2 separate regions of the Homo sapiens genome follow, and region 1 is linked to region 2. Evidence: promoter capture Hi-C in human tissues and cell types (Jung and others, 2019). All regions are on one chromosome and are shown on one strand. Each heading gives the region's core, a stretch centred on a gene start or on the middle of the fragment in contact. The rest is flanking DNA. Distances are from core to core; before and after follow the strand shown. Region 1 overlaps ARHGAP22 (Rho GTPase activating protein 22). Region 2 holds the start of ERCC6 (ERCC excision repair 6, chromatin remodeling factor).

Region 1 (6,652 bases), core at 1,642-4,141, 990 kb after region 2:
TGTGAGCCTGGAGGAGGGGACCCTAATGCACGCAGGGAGTGCATGGGACTTCCAGGATAAAGTGACAACGACCCTGCTCTTTGAAGGTTAAGTGAGAGTCAGCCAGGTGAAGAATCAGGGAGAGCAGCTGGGCAGAAGCAGCAATGGGCAAGCACAGTGGGCACGGGGTCTGTGTGTCTCCTTCACACCTTAGTTCCAAGGCGCTCAGCACATAGGTAACTGAATTTAATGTAAGGATTGGAAGCAACAGGAGGTTAAGCTTTCTGCCAGAATGAAAAGTTGTCCTCTGTGGCAGGAGAATGGTGTCGGGCAGTGGTTCTCAAGCTTTAGTGAGCCTCCGCCTCATCTGGAGGGCTTGCAAAAAACACTGCTGAGTGGGCTCAGGGTCCAAGGTGGAGAGGCTGCCCCTGGTGTAGAGATAGTGGGGGACTTAGAATCCTGGAAGGGTGAATGAGATGGGCCTCACAAGCGGACTGAGTGAGAGGAGGTTTGAGTTAATTGGGGGCAGGCAAAGCTATAACCAATGTTTTAATTCTAATAATTATTATTCCAAGAGGAGGAGGACCGTATAATGTATAAGATGCTGGTTTGTGCTTTGATCTCCTGGCCCTTTTTAATCCCTAGGCCACTTGCCTCAGGGGAAGGTGAGGTCTCTGCAGCAGAAAGCAGAAATCTCCTGCTCTCCCACCCCAGATAATTGATGTGGACAGGGTCGGGAAAGAGGCGTTCCCCTAGACTGGTCACCCTGCCCCCAGCAATGCCCCAGGAAGGTGATAGGCATGGTGCCACCAGGAAAGCAGGCTCCAGACACCAGGGTCCCGCCTCAGACAGACACACCATGGTCAAGAAAGGCAGGAGAGCTACCTAGCTTCCAGCCCCAAGTGACTGCAGGTAAAGACATCAGGTGACCAGGAGGGACCAAGAACAGCCCATCCCATTGCCAGGCCCCATGTAAGCCTGACCACAGCAAAGAGGACCCCTTCCCTCCATCTCAATAGTAGCTGGGACTCAGCTCCCTTCCAGCCTGGGAACATAGGGCTTGGAGATAGAATTAACATGATTCTTTCTAACAAATATCATATTTGTTGAGTGCCTGAGGTTGTAGACCAAGGTGTGTATGAGTGCTAGTGGGCTAAACATTCACTGAGTTCCTTCTAAGGAATGAAGCTGAGCACACCACGTTTATCCTCACCACACTCCTGGGACTAACCTCTACTAACCCATCTAACAGGCAAGGCCCCTGGGACTCTGACAAGCTAAGTAACTTGCTGGGATCCGAGGGCCGGTGAGCGGTGGAACTGCAGCTTGAGCCAGCTCTAACCCCAGAGCCCTGCTCTTCCTCAGCCTGCTGAGGCTAGCTCCCCCGGGGCAGGCATGAAGGAGCCAGGCCCCACAAAGGGACTGAGACTCAAGGACCCCCAGGTCCTGCCCACCTGGTACTTCTGTCTTGCCAGGGCAGCTGCCTGGCAAACCCTGCCCCTCCCAGCCCTTTGAAAGCTGTCTGCTCCTTGCAGACTTGATCCTGGGGGCCTCTCAGACCTGGGCTTTTTGCTGATGTGGGCATCCAGCCCCAGGCCAAGTTTAGGCCTCCCTTTAAATCCACAAGGAGCGGGTGGGGAGTGGAGAGGCCTGCTTTGGCACTCTGGGCAAAAAGAGTTGCTAAGATCCCAGAGCAGGCCTGTCCCCAAAAAACGGCCATGTTTGGTGAGATGAATTAGGTCATCCGTTAAGCTTTGTAACTCATTGCTAAAATCCGTCTTCTGGAATTAGCACAATGCTATTGAAGGGAACCAAGTGGGTTGGTGCTATCAAAGGGAACCAAGTGGGTTGGCTGCAGGCTTGAGACCAGAACCATAAGTCTTTCTAGTGAGTAACCGTAAATGGGGTGGGGCCGGGGGAGTGGAGATTAAGAGTCCTGGTTGGAGCAGGTTGCAGAAGCCAGCTCTGGCTAACTCTAGCAAAGGGGAAATTCACCAGAAACCAGGGGGTAGGATGTGATGGGAGTGACACTTGTGGAAGGGGCAAGCGGCTGGGCTGTCACGGGGCCAGGAGCTGGGAGGGGCGAGCGGGTGGTACTCTGTGCTGGGAAGGTTGAATCTCGCCTGGCTCTGCAATCCCGGCATGGCTCACTTGCCGAAAGCCCAAAGTCTCAGTATCTGTGCTTAAGCTACATGCCTACCCCTGACTACACTGGGGTGGTGAGGAAGGGCCTATCCACTCTGGCATCTGGACCAGCCCTCCCAAGACTTCGCCTAGTGGGGGCAAGGAGACTCCAAAGGAACTTGGGTGCCTTCCAGAGGGGAGAGTAGAAGACAAACAGCCAGTCTCTGTCAAATGTTCACTGCTCCAGATGGTCCATGACTGTATTTCTGCAGGGCTGAGTGTCACATCATTGGCCTTGCCCTTTCCAAGTGCCAGACAAGGGGCCAGGACGGGATGCCTTTTCAACAACATTGCACCGAGCCGATGGCCCCCCACACTCAGGAGCAATTCCTACTTGTGGGGAAGGACCTGAGTGTGCAGTGCTGAGGATTAGCCCGAGGAAGACGTGAATGGCCACCCTGGATCTGAGGAAAAGGAGGAGGAGGAGAGTGCTCTGTTTTCTGGTGCAGAAGGAGGTGAAGGGTACCACAGCTGCTCTGAGGCCTGGGTCTAGTCCCCATCCTGGAGCACCTGTCTGCTTTGGGCTGGGAGCCCCATATTTCTCAAGATCAGGGTCAGGAGACTCGGGGGCCAGCTGTACCATTCAGAGGCCTGGCAAGCTCTCTGCTCTCCCACAGAGGTCCATGCTCCTTCCCTCCCACTGGGCTCCTTGGGGCCTCCCCCCCAACTCCCCAAACACCAGATGGGAATCCTGCAGGCAATAGGAGGCCTGGACAGGGATGGCTTTGAGGTCTTGGGTTTTCAGCTCCAACCAGTCTTCAGAGACCATGGTAGTAGCAAAGCTAGCATTGTGTCCCATGGGAATCAGGGCCATGGGGTTGATTGTCGCCAGACACACCACACGCGGATGCAGATGTTGCCTAGGCAAGCTGGTGTCTGCATGTAGAAAGGAAGCTTCCGAGGAAGAGCTGGGGAGGCAAGCCTGGGAGCCATCTTCCTGTTTGTGCCCATTTTCCACACACTCTCAACAGACATCAAGGGCCTCACAGCATCTAGTCAGTGCTGTTCCAGACCACCCATCTCTCCAGGCCAGAGTCAGGGAGAGCTGGATGTGAGCATAGCCATGCTACTCAGGGACTGTGTGGGTTTTGACAAGTCACAGAGGGCTCCGTGCCTCAATGTCCCATAAACTGGGGGTGAGAATATTGCCAAGCACCTTGGGTTGTGGTGAGGATTCACTGAGAACCCAGATCCTGGCTCATAGTAGGTACCTGGTCTAGATAAGCTCCCCTCCTCCCTGCATGCTCTCTAATCATTAATCGTTATGATTAATAACAGCAACCCAATCCCATCACAATGCTGTGTGATGAGTGCTCTGATAGAGGTGTCCCTGACTGAGACACTTTTATCTTTAGCTTCAGGATTTCCCTTGGCCAACGGCACAGTAAGTAACCTCAGAGTTCAAAGCATTCAGCAAACAATGGAAAGGCAGAGCCACCAGAAATGTACACATGATTTTCATGACAGGTATGGTAATGCCATGTTAGCTAGCGGAGCCTCTTTCTCTACTGCCCGTATGGACCTATGTTGCAACACCAATTGGAATTGGATGGAATCTGTGCCCTGTTGCCAGGGTCACCCCTAACGGAATGGAGAGATCAGTAATCATCCCAGCTGGTGTCATACTGAATTGTTTAAAACACAAATCATAATTGATGCCAAGTAAAAGCTCCATGTGCCCATTAAAATATGGCATTATGGAAAAAGTAAAGTACATTTGAATCCTTAAAAATAAAACAAAAACTATGTGTTAGAAAGATCACTCAGGGTAGACCAACTGAGGGGCTTACAAGAACTGTAATGTCTGATGCTCATCTCCACCAATGTCTATTCTGTGCCCCCACCCCTACCCTGGCAATGTCGACAGAAAAGACCACACTGCCACAGGAGTAGCGGGGACCCCTGTGGGAGGCAGCGCAGAAGCCAGGCTGCTTAAAGCAGAGCCCTGAGTCTTTCGTGCATTTACAAGTTTATGTGTCAAGTTCTCCAGGATCAAGCCAGGGAGTCCTGATCACTAACAACATCTCTGCCTTGGGGGCCTGTTTAAGTGGCTTCCAGACTCAGCTCAGACCCTAGCTCTCAAGGGCAACCAGATTAGATTTCTTCCCTTCTCTGAATCTCAGTTTCCCCCTGTGTAAGACGAGAGGGCTGGCCCAGTGACCTCCGACGTGTCTGCTTGAACGAGTAGAATGGCACCAGCTGGCATTCTATAGCCAAGTTTGTCCAGAGGGAGCCAGTTCCTGCCCGTCTTATGGCTACACAAGGTCATTGAAGTCGCCCTCAGGCATGGAGCTTGTAGCTGCCTGGCCTTATCCAGCCTGCCCTTGGAGCAGATAGGAGACTGCTGCCTGCTGTCTTAAAGGGAGGCCTGACCTTGAAGGAGAGCCAGTGTGCACAGATTACTCCGCAGAGGAGACAGATACTGTGTGTCTGACATGCCCAGAGCATCCCTGATCACATTAGCCGCCGCCTGAGTGGGGAGGATGCTGATACCGGCCTATCTCGGCACCTGGTACCAGCCAGCCTGAGTCTTGGCCTGACCTCGTGCAGCCCCTGCTGAGGTTGTCTGCAGAGCGCCAGATGATGGGTAATGACAGAAATGAAATTAGATGAGAAGTTTGCCAGTGATCCCCACCCCTGAGATGGGAGTGGCTCTTACACTTCCTGGCTTTGCAGTGGGGTTCTCCTGTCTTAGCCTCACTTCTCTCAGCTCAGCACAGGACCAGGTGTGGGAAACTCCTGCAGGCTCCCTGGAAAGAGTCCCCTTGAGCAGGATCATTCCTTTGGCCAAAATCGTGTCCTAGAGCAGCGCTCTTCTATAGAGATGTAATGCAAGCCATGTTTGTGGTTGTAAATTTTCTAGTGAGTACACATGTGAAAATATCTGCATAAATATATACACCTACTACACACTCACAAGGACTAAAAATTTAAAATTTTTTTAAAACTAAAAGGAAAGAAAGCTAGTGAAATTGTTCTTAATAATGTATTTTTATTTAAACTACTGGCTCCAAAATACTATCATTTCAATATGTAATCAAAATAAACATTAGTGAAATATTCCACATTCTTTTTTGCTTCCAAGTCTAAATTGGTATTTACACTTAAAGCACATTTCCATGCAGACACTAAATTTTCACTGGAAGTACTTGATATATATTTACTTATTCTAATTTTTTAATTTTTTAAATTGACACATAATAATTGTACATATTCATGGGGTACATAGTGATGTTTTGATACATATATTGTACAGTGATCAGATTAGGGTGATTAGCATATCCACCATCTCAAGCATTTACCATTTATTTGTGTTGCGAGCATTCACTGTCCTCCTATTTGAAATTATGTAATATATTAATTAACTATAGCCATCTTTGATCGGCATTTAGATTTCATAAAATGTATGATTGAAAAGTAGAGTCACATACCCAAGTTATTCCAAACATACTTAAATGTTTTTCAGCAATGGAACTGAATGTCAGTTTTTAAACTAATGTAAATTAAATTAAATTGACAATTCCATTGCTCAGGCACACCTGCTTCATTCACATGCTCAGGACCCACATGTGTGGTGGCACCGTATTGGACAGCACAGGCCTAGATGAGAACACCAGCATAGAACAGGTGCTCTACAGGCAAAAATGAAAGAAGCAAGGGGAGAAAGAGAAAGAAGGAAGGATGAACAAAGAAAGAACGGCAGGGATGGGGAGGGGGTGGGAGCCTCAGACTTGGAGTAAGACAGAGCTAGATTCACATTTGAGCTCTGCCATTTGCTCAATAAAAGAACCTGGACCAATAACTTAAATCCCATGGGCTTCATTTTCATCATCTGATCGTAGAAGGGAAACTGCCTACTTGGCAAGACAGCTGTAATCATCATGTGAAGTACGATATGCAGACGGCAGGACAGTTTCTCCCCTGACCCCACCCAGTCCTTTCTCTTTTTTTTTTTTGACGGAGTCTTGTTCTGTCACCCAGGCCGGAGTGCAGTGGCACGATCTTGGCTCACTGCAACCTCCACCTCCCTGGTTCAAGCAATTCCCTGCCTCAGCCTCCCAAGTAGCTGGGATTACAGGTGCACACCACCATGTCCGGCTAATTTCTTTGTATTTTTAGTAGAGACGGGGTTTCACCATGTTGGCCAGACTGGTCTCGAACTCCTGACCTCAGGCAATCGGCCCACCTTGGCCTCTCAAAGTGCTGGGATTACAGACATGAGCCACCACGCCCAGCCTCTCTCTTTTTTTTTCAGTTCTTCTTTTATCTGTCATAGACAAACAAGCTTCCAATGAGATTTTAATTTTTTAGTTGTGTTGCTTTAAAACAAACAAAAAATCTAATAATCATCGCTTTACAGCTGTGCTTCTCAAATTTCCTGGTGCATCAGAATCCCCCAGGCTGCTGGCCCTTCCCTGGCTCCAGAGGCCTGGAGTGAGTCAAGGAATCTGCATTTCTAATGAACTCTGGACAATACTGGTGCTGCTGG
Region 2 (6,950 bases), core at 3,454-5,953:
TTGAATTGGGGCTGGGTGAAATAAGGCTGAGACCTACTGAGCTGTATTCCCAAGAGGGCAGGCATTCTAAGTCACAGGATGAGGTAGGAGGTTGGCACAAGATACAGGTGACAAAGACCTTGCTGATTAAACAGTTTGCGGTAAAGAAGCTGGCCAAAACCCACGAAAACCAAGATGGCAATGAAAGTGATGTCTGGTCATCCTCACTCTTCCTTATATGCTAATTATAATGCATTAGCATGCTAAGAGACACTCCTATCAGCACATGACAGCTTACAAATGCCATGGCAATATCAGAAAGTTACCCTATATGGTTTAAAAATGGGAAGAACCCTCAGTTCTGGGAATTACCCACCCCTTTCCTAGAAAACTCAGGAATAATCTACCCCTTCTTTAGCATATAATCAAGAAATAACTATAAGTATTCTCATCAAGCAGCCCAAGTTGCTGTTCTGCCTATGGAGTAGCCATTCTTTATTCCTTTACTCTCCTAATAAACTTGCTTTCACTTTACTCTATGGACTTGCCCCGAATTCTTTCTTACTCAAGGTCTAAGAACTCTCTCGGCATCTGGATCGGGAATCCTTCCTGGTAACAGTTCACAATGGATGGTTTTATACATTCATTGCTTTTAAGCTTGCTGATTCATTTATTCAACATACATTTAACATGTTTTTCTAGTGGTTGCCAACACAGTTCTAAATAATATGCTTTTGCTTCTTTTTTGATTTATAATTTTTACAAAGTATTTATTGTGTTTCCAATACATCTAATTATTTTTCATGAGTTTTCCCCATTTATAAGGATCAGAGAACCAAACCGGTTTTGTTGCACTGCCGTTACCCAGAAGTTTTGAAAAGTGAGAGTCAACTCAGACCTCTGTTCTGTAGGTCATTGGGAGAATTCCTTATATTGAACACGAAATGTGAAATAAAGGCGCAAGGATGAATATCGTCATAGTTAAACAAGTTAACATTAGTAAAGCACTCAAGACAATGAAACCACCTTTGCAAAAATTATATCAGTTAGAAAATTATGACAGTGAAAGAGGTCTGAGTTAACGCCCCCATTCCAACACCTATCTTGCCTTTCCCTTAATTATTTCTAAGCTACTGGGGCCAGCTAACTTTGAGAGACATTTAGGCTATAGTTTACATGATAACAGACCTTGCCTGAAACTCAACTGTTTTTGTAAAGCTAATGGGAAGCTATCAGGCTGTGGGGGAGGAGAGGAGCCTGAGTCCTGCTAAGGCGCAGATATGAACGATTGTCAGTCATTATTCTGGAGGTTATAAGATACTCAACTTTCCCAATTACTCCTGCAAATAACACCACTGATATGGTTTGGCTGTGTCCCCACCCAAATCTCATCCTGAATTGTAGTTTCCATAATCCCTACATGTTGTGGGAGGAAGCCGGTGGGAGATAACTGAATCGTGAGGGTGGTTACCTCCATGCTGTTCTGATAGTGAGTTCTCACGAGATCTGATGGTTTTATAAGGGGCTTTCCCCCTCCTTCACTCTGCACTTCTCCTTGCTGCCACCATGTGAAGTAGGACATGTTTGCTCCCCCTGTCACCATGATTGTAAGTTTCCAGAGGCCTCCCCAGCCATGCTTAACTGTGAGTCAATTAAACCTCTTTCCTTTATAAATTACCCAGTCTTGGGTATGTCTTTATTAGCAGCACGAGAGCAGACTAATACAACCACTATTTGTAGCTTTTTGAGATATCTTTCCAGGTTTTTTGCATGTCTGACACCCATGGCTCCACCTGGACCGCCAACCCCACTCCCACAGCCCCACCCAGAAGTGATTCAGACTGCAGGAGGACAGCTTTGACTCCCCCTATGATTTCATCTCAGCCTCAACCAATCAGCAGCAAGCACCTGTTACCTGGCCACTCCCACCCCTTCCTCCAAACTGCGTTTGAAAAACCCCCAGCCTATGAGCTTCGGACTTTGGATCAGATGACCTGAGCATGCACTCCATCTCCCACCTGGCATGGTCGGCCTCGTGTCTATTAAGCTCTTTTTCTACCACAATGCTATGGTCTTTCTTTATGCAGTGGGCAGGAAGAACCCCTTGGGTGGGGTGTTTAAAATAATGCCCAGCTTAGAGTAAGGGCTAGGAAATGGTAGGGAAAATGGATTAAAATCCAAATCAATAACTACTATAATAATGACATTAGAAATATTGGTTTGGGGGTACACAGGAGATGCAAGAGCCTATTGCTGTCAGAGGGTAGGGGAAAGCTTCAGAAAAGAGAAACTTTGTCTGAGTTTGGAATGGGTAAGAGAATTCTAAGCAGAGGGACCTGCTTGTAAGATCACAGAAGTGACAGAATAACAAGTAGGGGTATGTGGGAAAAGATTAATAATTGCCTCTCCCCCAAAGTTCCAGTTTATAGTTTGTCCATTTCTGTGGTATAAATACTCCTACTATGGCTGATTTCAAGCTATTAATGTGAAGTCAACAAAGGCAGAGTTGGTGCTATGGGCTAAACTGGGTGCCCCCCAAATTCATATGCTGAATCCCTAACCCTCAATGTGACTATTTGGAGACAGGGTCTTTAGGCAGCAAATCTGGTTAAATGAGATCATAAGGGTGAGTCCCTAATCCAATACGGCTGATGCCTTAGAAGAAAGGGAAGACAGAGCCCTCTCTCTACCCCATGTAAGGACACAGTGAGAAGGTAACCATTTGCAAGCCATGAGGAGAGCTTCCCCTAAATGAGCTAAATCTGCCTGCATTTGATCTTGGACTTCCCAGCCTCCAGAACTATGAGAAACAAATGCCTGTTGTTTAAGCTGCCCAGTCTATGGCATTTGTTATGGCAGCCTGAGCTAAGGCAGCTGGGAAGAGGTGAACAGTATGCTTGCTAGGCCGTAGAAGCCAATTGTAGCACACCCTTCCTGGGAGAAGAGTAAGTAGTTCCCTAAATCCTGAGCATAGGCATCCAGGGAGTGAAGGACACAAGTGATGCAGAAAAATTAGATGGGGCAGGAGTATAAAAGGGCTTGGACGACTTGCTAAATAACTTGGGACCTCATTTAACTAAATTCCCTCATTAAAGACCCTATCTTCAAATACAGTCACATTCTGAGGTCCCGGGGTGGGGGTGGGGAGTGGCGGTTAGGACTCCAGCATATGAATTTTGGGGAGGGGACACAATTCGGCCCTTAATAGCTCCAGTTGTGCCACCCTGAGTTGTTTTCCTGAACCCCGCCCACGTCTTTGTAAATAATAACTCTCAACTTCCCCTTTTGAGTGGACCATTTTTTCCTGTCCAAATTCTGATATAGGAAGGGTCTCCAAAATAGCTGCAAAGGGAACCTCAGTCTCAAAAGTTGGGATCCACTATATATCTGCTTTTACTTTCAAGCATTGAAACTAATGTCAATCAACTGCCTTTCTATTCTTAATATTTTATCCAAGAAATCGCTAGAATTCTTTCTCCTTTAAAAAAAAAAAAAAGCAAGTTACAAGCCGGGCGTGGTGGCTCACACCTGTAATCCCAGAACTCTAGGAGGCCGAGGCGGGTGGATCACCTGAGGTCAGGAGTTCGCGGACAGCTTGGCTAACATGACGAAACCCCGTCTCTACTAAAAACACAAAAATTAGCTGGGCATGGTGGCAGGCGCCTGTAATCCCAGCTACCCGGCAGGCTGAGGCAGGAGAATCGCTTGAACCTGGGAGGAGGAGGTTGCAGTGAGCCCACATCGTGCCATTGTACTCCATCCTGGGCGACAAGAGCAAAACTCCGTCTCAAAAACAAAAACAAAAACAAAACAAACAAAAAAACCCACTACCACCAACAAAAACAAGTTACATTGTGGGTTGGGGCCGCTGACAGGAGGAATAAGATGATGTTATGGAGCATTTCCTAGTCCCCTTTCCGACCCCATTTCCCTATTGTCCGACTTCAGGCTTCCAAGTGAGGACAGCACTTCCCAGGCAGTGACCCGCAGTCACTGCCCTCCCAGAGGACGTCCTGCCTCGCGGCCCTGGAAAGTCCACCTTCTCCTAGCACCGATCCTGAGCTGAGAAGCTCTGTCTGGTACAGCCATCCTGCATCGTGGGCTGCTTCTTTCCCCAGGCGAAGCTCAACTTCCTCCCATTGTTCTGAACCTCTGTGTGGACATCTTCTTTCTTCAAACGCACCACGGTAAAATTCTCGCCTGCCTCGAAACCCCGCCTACCTCTGAGATCTGAGGACGGATACTAAACGCTGGACTTAAGGCAATGTACACATGTAAGCAGGCTCTGTAGGCACTCACTCCGCCCAGGTGCGCGCGTGGCGGAGGGGGAACAGAGAAGCAGGACAGCTCTCCATCCTTCCCGTGTTCAGTCGTGGGAGACAACAAGAGAGGTCACAGCCTGGCGACCAAAAAGTGCGGCTAACTTCCCTGCCCAAGCTGACTTTCTCTGCAGGGTTCAAGGTTAATTGTGAGGATTTACATTCGCATGGCACACCCGCATCCCCCTCTACGTGGAAATATGTCTTAACTTTCATAACTGCCTTGCCAGCAGGGTATTTTTCGCTAGGGGCGAAGCGTCCTTCGCAAGCCACCCAGCTGACCGGCAGCGGAGACAGCTTTCTCGCCCTGCTCGCACGCAAGTAGAAAGGCGCTGCTGAGCCCGTCCCTCCAAACCACGTGGTCTTGCCCGTGCTTAAAAACAAACGCTGAGCCAGGCGCATGCGCCACGGGCCTCCCCGCACCAGCAGAAGTCGGAGTCGCTGTTGGGGGCGGTGTCTATGGTTGAGCTGAGGGCGCAGGCGCCACGGCCCGTCGAGCTGGGTTCCAAGGCGGCTGGCGGCGGTAGCGTCTCTGTTTCCTTGTGGGCGCTCGCGCGGCCCTGGGTGAGTGTTCGGGGGTCCCGGCCGAATGTCGGGCAGGGGGTGTCGGGGCCCAGCTCAGGCTTCTCGGGCGGGCCGCGGCCCCGCGCCTTGGCCTCGCCGTGGTGATTGAGCCTGTCAGCGAGGACGCACTGTAGCGGGTCTTAGGGCCAAGTGCCCGCTTCCGGCGGCCTCACCTGAGACCGGAAGTAGCGCCAAGGAGCGCTCACCTGAGGCGGCTTGAGTCCCTGGCCGGCCAGCGACCCAGCTACTTCTCCGACTTTGTATAAGGCCCCCTGCGCGCAGGGTCAGCTGGGTCCTTTTTGATCTCGATTAAAATGCTGGAGCTGTTATTTTAAAGAGAGTCGGGCTAGATGTACGTCCGACGTTTTGGGCGTTGATAGAGTCAAATTGATAAGAGTGTGGGCGGATGAGGCAGGCCGCCTGTAAATGCTGCTGTTACGTGACTTCCACGCAGCGTCTTAACTGCTGTCATCCTGTGACAGGCAGCCCTCGCTTTTCTCCTCAACTTTTCCCATCATCTTCTTGTTGCTTTGTCTCCTCCAATCCATTATCCGCACAGTTGTCCAGGTGGTCTCTGGCATAAAGTAGGTCATGCCATCATCAGCCTACTTAACAGTTTTCAGAGTCATTCCATTGCACTGGGAGTGGAATCCATGCTCGTGTTTTCCCAGGCCTTGTGTGATTTGGCCCTTGCCTGTCCCCTCTCAGAACTGTGCCTGTGTCCGACCAACCCTCCAAATGAGACCCAGCTTGCCCCTGGCTGCGGGAGCCCCAGTGATGGGGGAGGACGGTGAAGATACTAGTGTCCCAGATGATTAAGCCTTAGAAGATACTCTGCAAGACTTAGGCCATGAACGGAGCCCTTCTCTGCTCTTCTTAACTCAAAGTTAAAAATAAAGTCAAAAATTCGGTGTTCCAGCCTTCTTGCATTTTCACAAGTGCATCAGCTCTTTCTAGTCTTAAAAGTTACGCACGTTGTTGGGAGGCCGAGGTGGGTGGATCACCCGAGGTCAGGAGTTCGAGACCAGCCTTACCAACGTGGTGAAACCCTGTCTTTACTAAATACGAAAAATTAGCCGGGCATGATGGCATATGCCTGTAATCCCAGCTAATCGGGAGGCCAAGGCAGGAGAATCGCTTGAACCCGGAAGGCGGAGGTTGCAGTGAGCCTGGCGGAGCCTGGCGGAGGTTGCACTCCAGCCTGGGCAACCGGAGCGAAATTCCGTCTCAAAAAAAAAAAAAATTTCACACGTTGTTTCCTTGCAAGACGTTCACTTTACTTTCGACCTGACTGACTTATCAGATGTCACTTTATCAGAGAGGCCTCCTTGACCCCACATCTACCTCCACAATTTCAATTTGGTTTCTCTCATTTTGTCAGAAAGCCTTGTACTTTCCTCTTAACAGCAGTCACCACAATTATATTTGTGTGTGTGTGTGTGTGTGTGTGTGTATGTGTATATATATATATATAGTTTTTAAATGTCTGTTTTTCCCATGAGACTCTAAGCTCTTTGGGGACAGGAATTAGTTAACCTAGTACATTGCCTGGTGTAATTAACTCTCAGTAACTATTTGTTAAATGTATGATTTCTTTCTTTCTTTTTTTTTTTTTTTTTGAGACGGAGTCTTGCCCTGTCGCCCAGGCTGGAGTGCAGTGGTGCGATCTCGCTCACTGCGGCCTCCGCCTCCTGGGTTCAAGCGATTCTCCTGCCCCAGCCTCTCGAGTAGCTGGGATTACAGGCGCGCGCCTCCATGCCCAGCTAATTTTTGCATTTTTAGTAGAGACGGGGTTTCACTATGTTGGTCAGGCTGGTCTCGAACTTCTGACCTCGTGATCCTCCCGCCTCGGCCTCCCAAAGTGCTGGGATTACAGGCATGAGCCACCGCTCCCGGCAAATGTATGATTTATTTCACTTCTGAAATTCTTTAACCTGATAAGAGCCTTCTGGTTTCCAACTCTCACTTCCAGAAGACTTGGTTTTCTGGCCATTGCCAGATACTAAGTGACTTCTTGAACCCTTTCTCCCATTTCCAGGCCCCTTCTGTTTTTTTGTTTGTTTGTTTTTGTTTTTTTAAACCTACCCA

What was found. The method cuts DNA at HindIII sites, captures the fragments that hold promoters and counts their contacts. A contact is called where the count stands out against the background at its distance.
Region 1: a fragment that was not itself captured here is called in contact with the fragment with the promoter of ERCC6 in region 2 in 1 of the 25 tissues and cell types used here (dorsolateral prefrontal cortex).

The regions. Positions count from the first base shown.
Region 1 is chr10:48,543,588-48,550,239 of GRCh38, reverse strand. The region is part of intron 3 of ARHGAP22 (Rho GTPase activating protein 22); the gene reads left to right. Among named protein-coding and RNA genes, the nearest start is that of ARHGAP22-IT1, 35 kb to the right of the region's middle. RefSeq lists an enhancer at 6,501-6,652. The HindIII fragment of the contact is 3,725 bases long and covers 1,029-4,753 here.
Region 2 is chr10:49,536,874-49,543,823 of GRCh38, reverse strand. It overlaps ERCC6 (ERCC excision repair 6, chromatin remodeling factor), which reads left to right and starts at 4,703. Exons shown (of 21, transcript NM_000124.4): 1 at 4,703-4,862. RefSeq lists enhancers at 4,021-4,260, 4,291-4,350 and silencers at 4,771-5,060, 6,006-6,194. The HindIII fragment of the contact is 14,771 bases long and covers 1,446-6,950 here.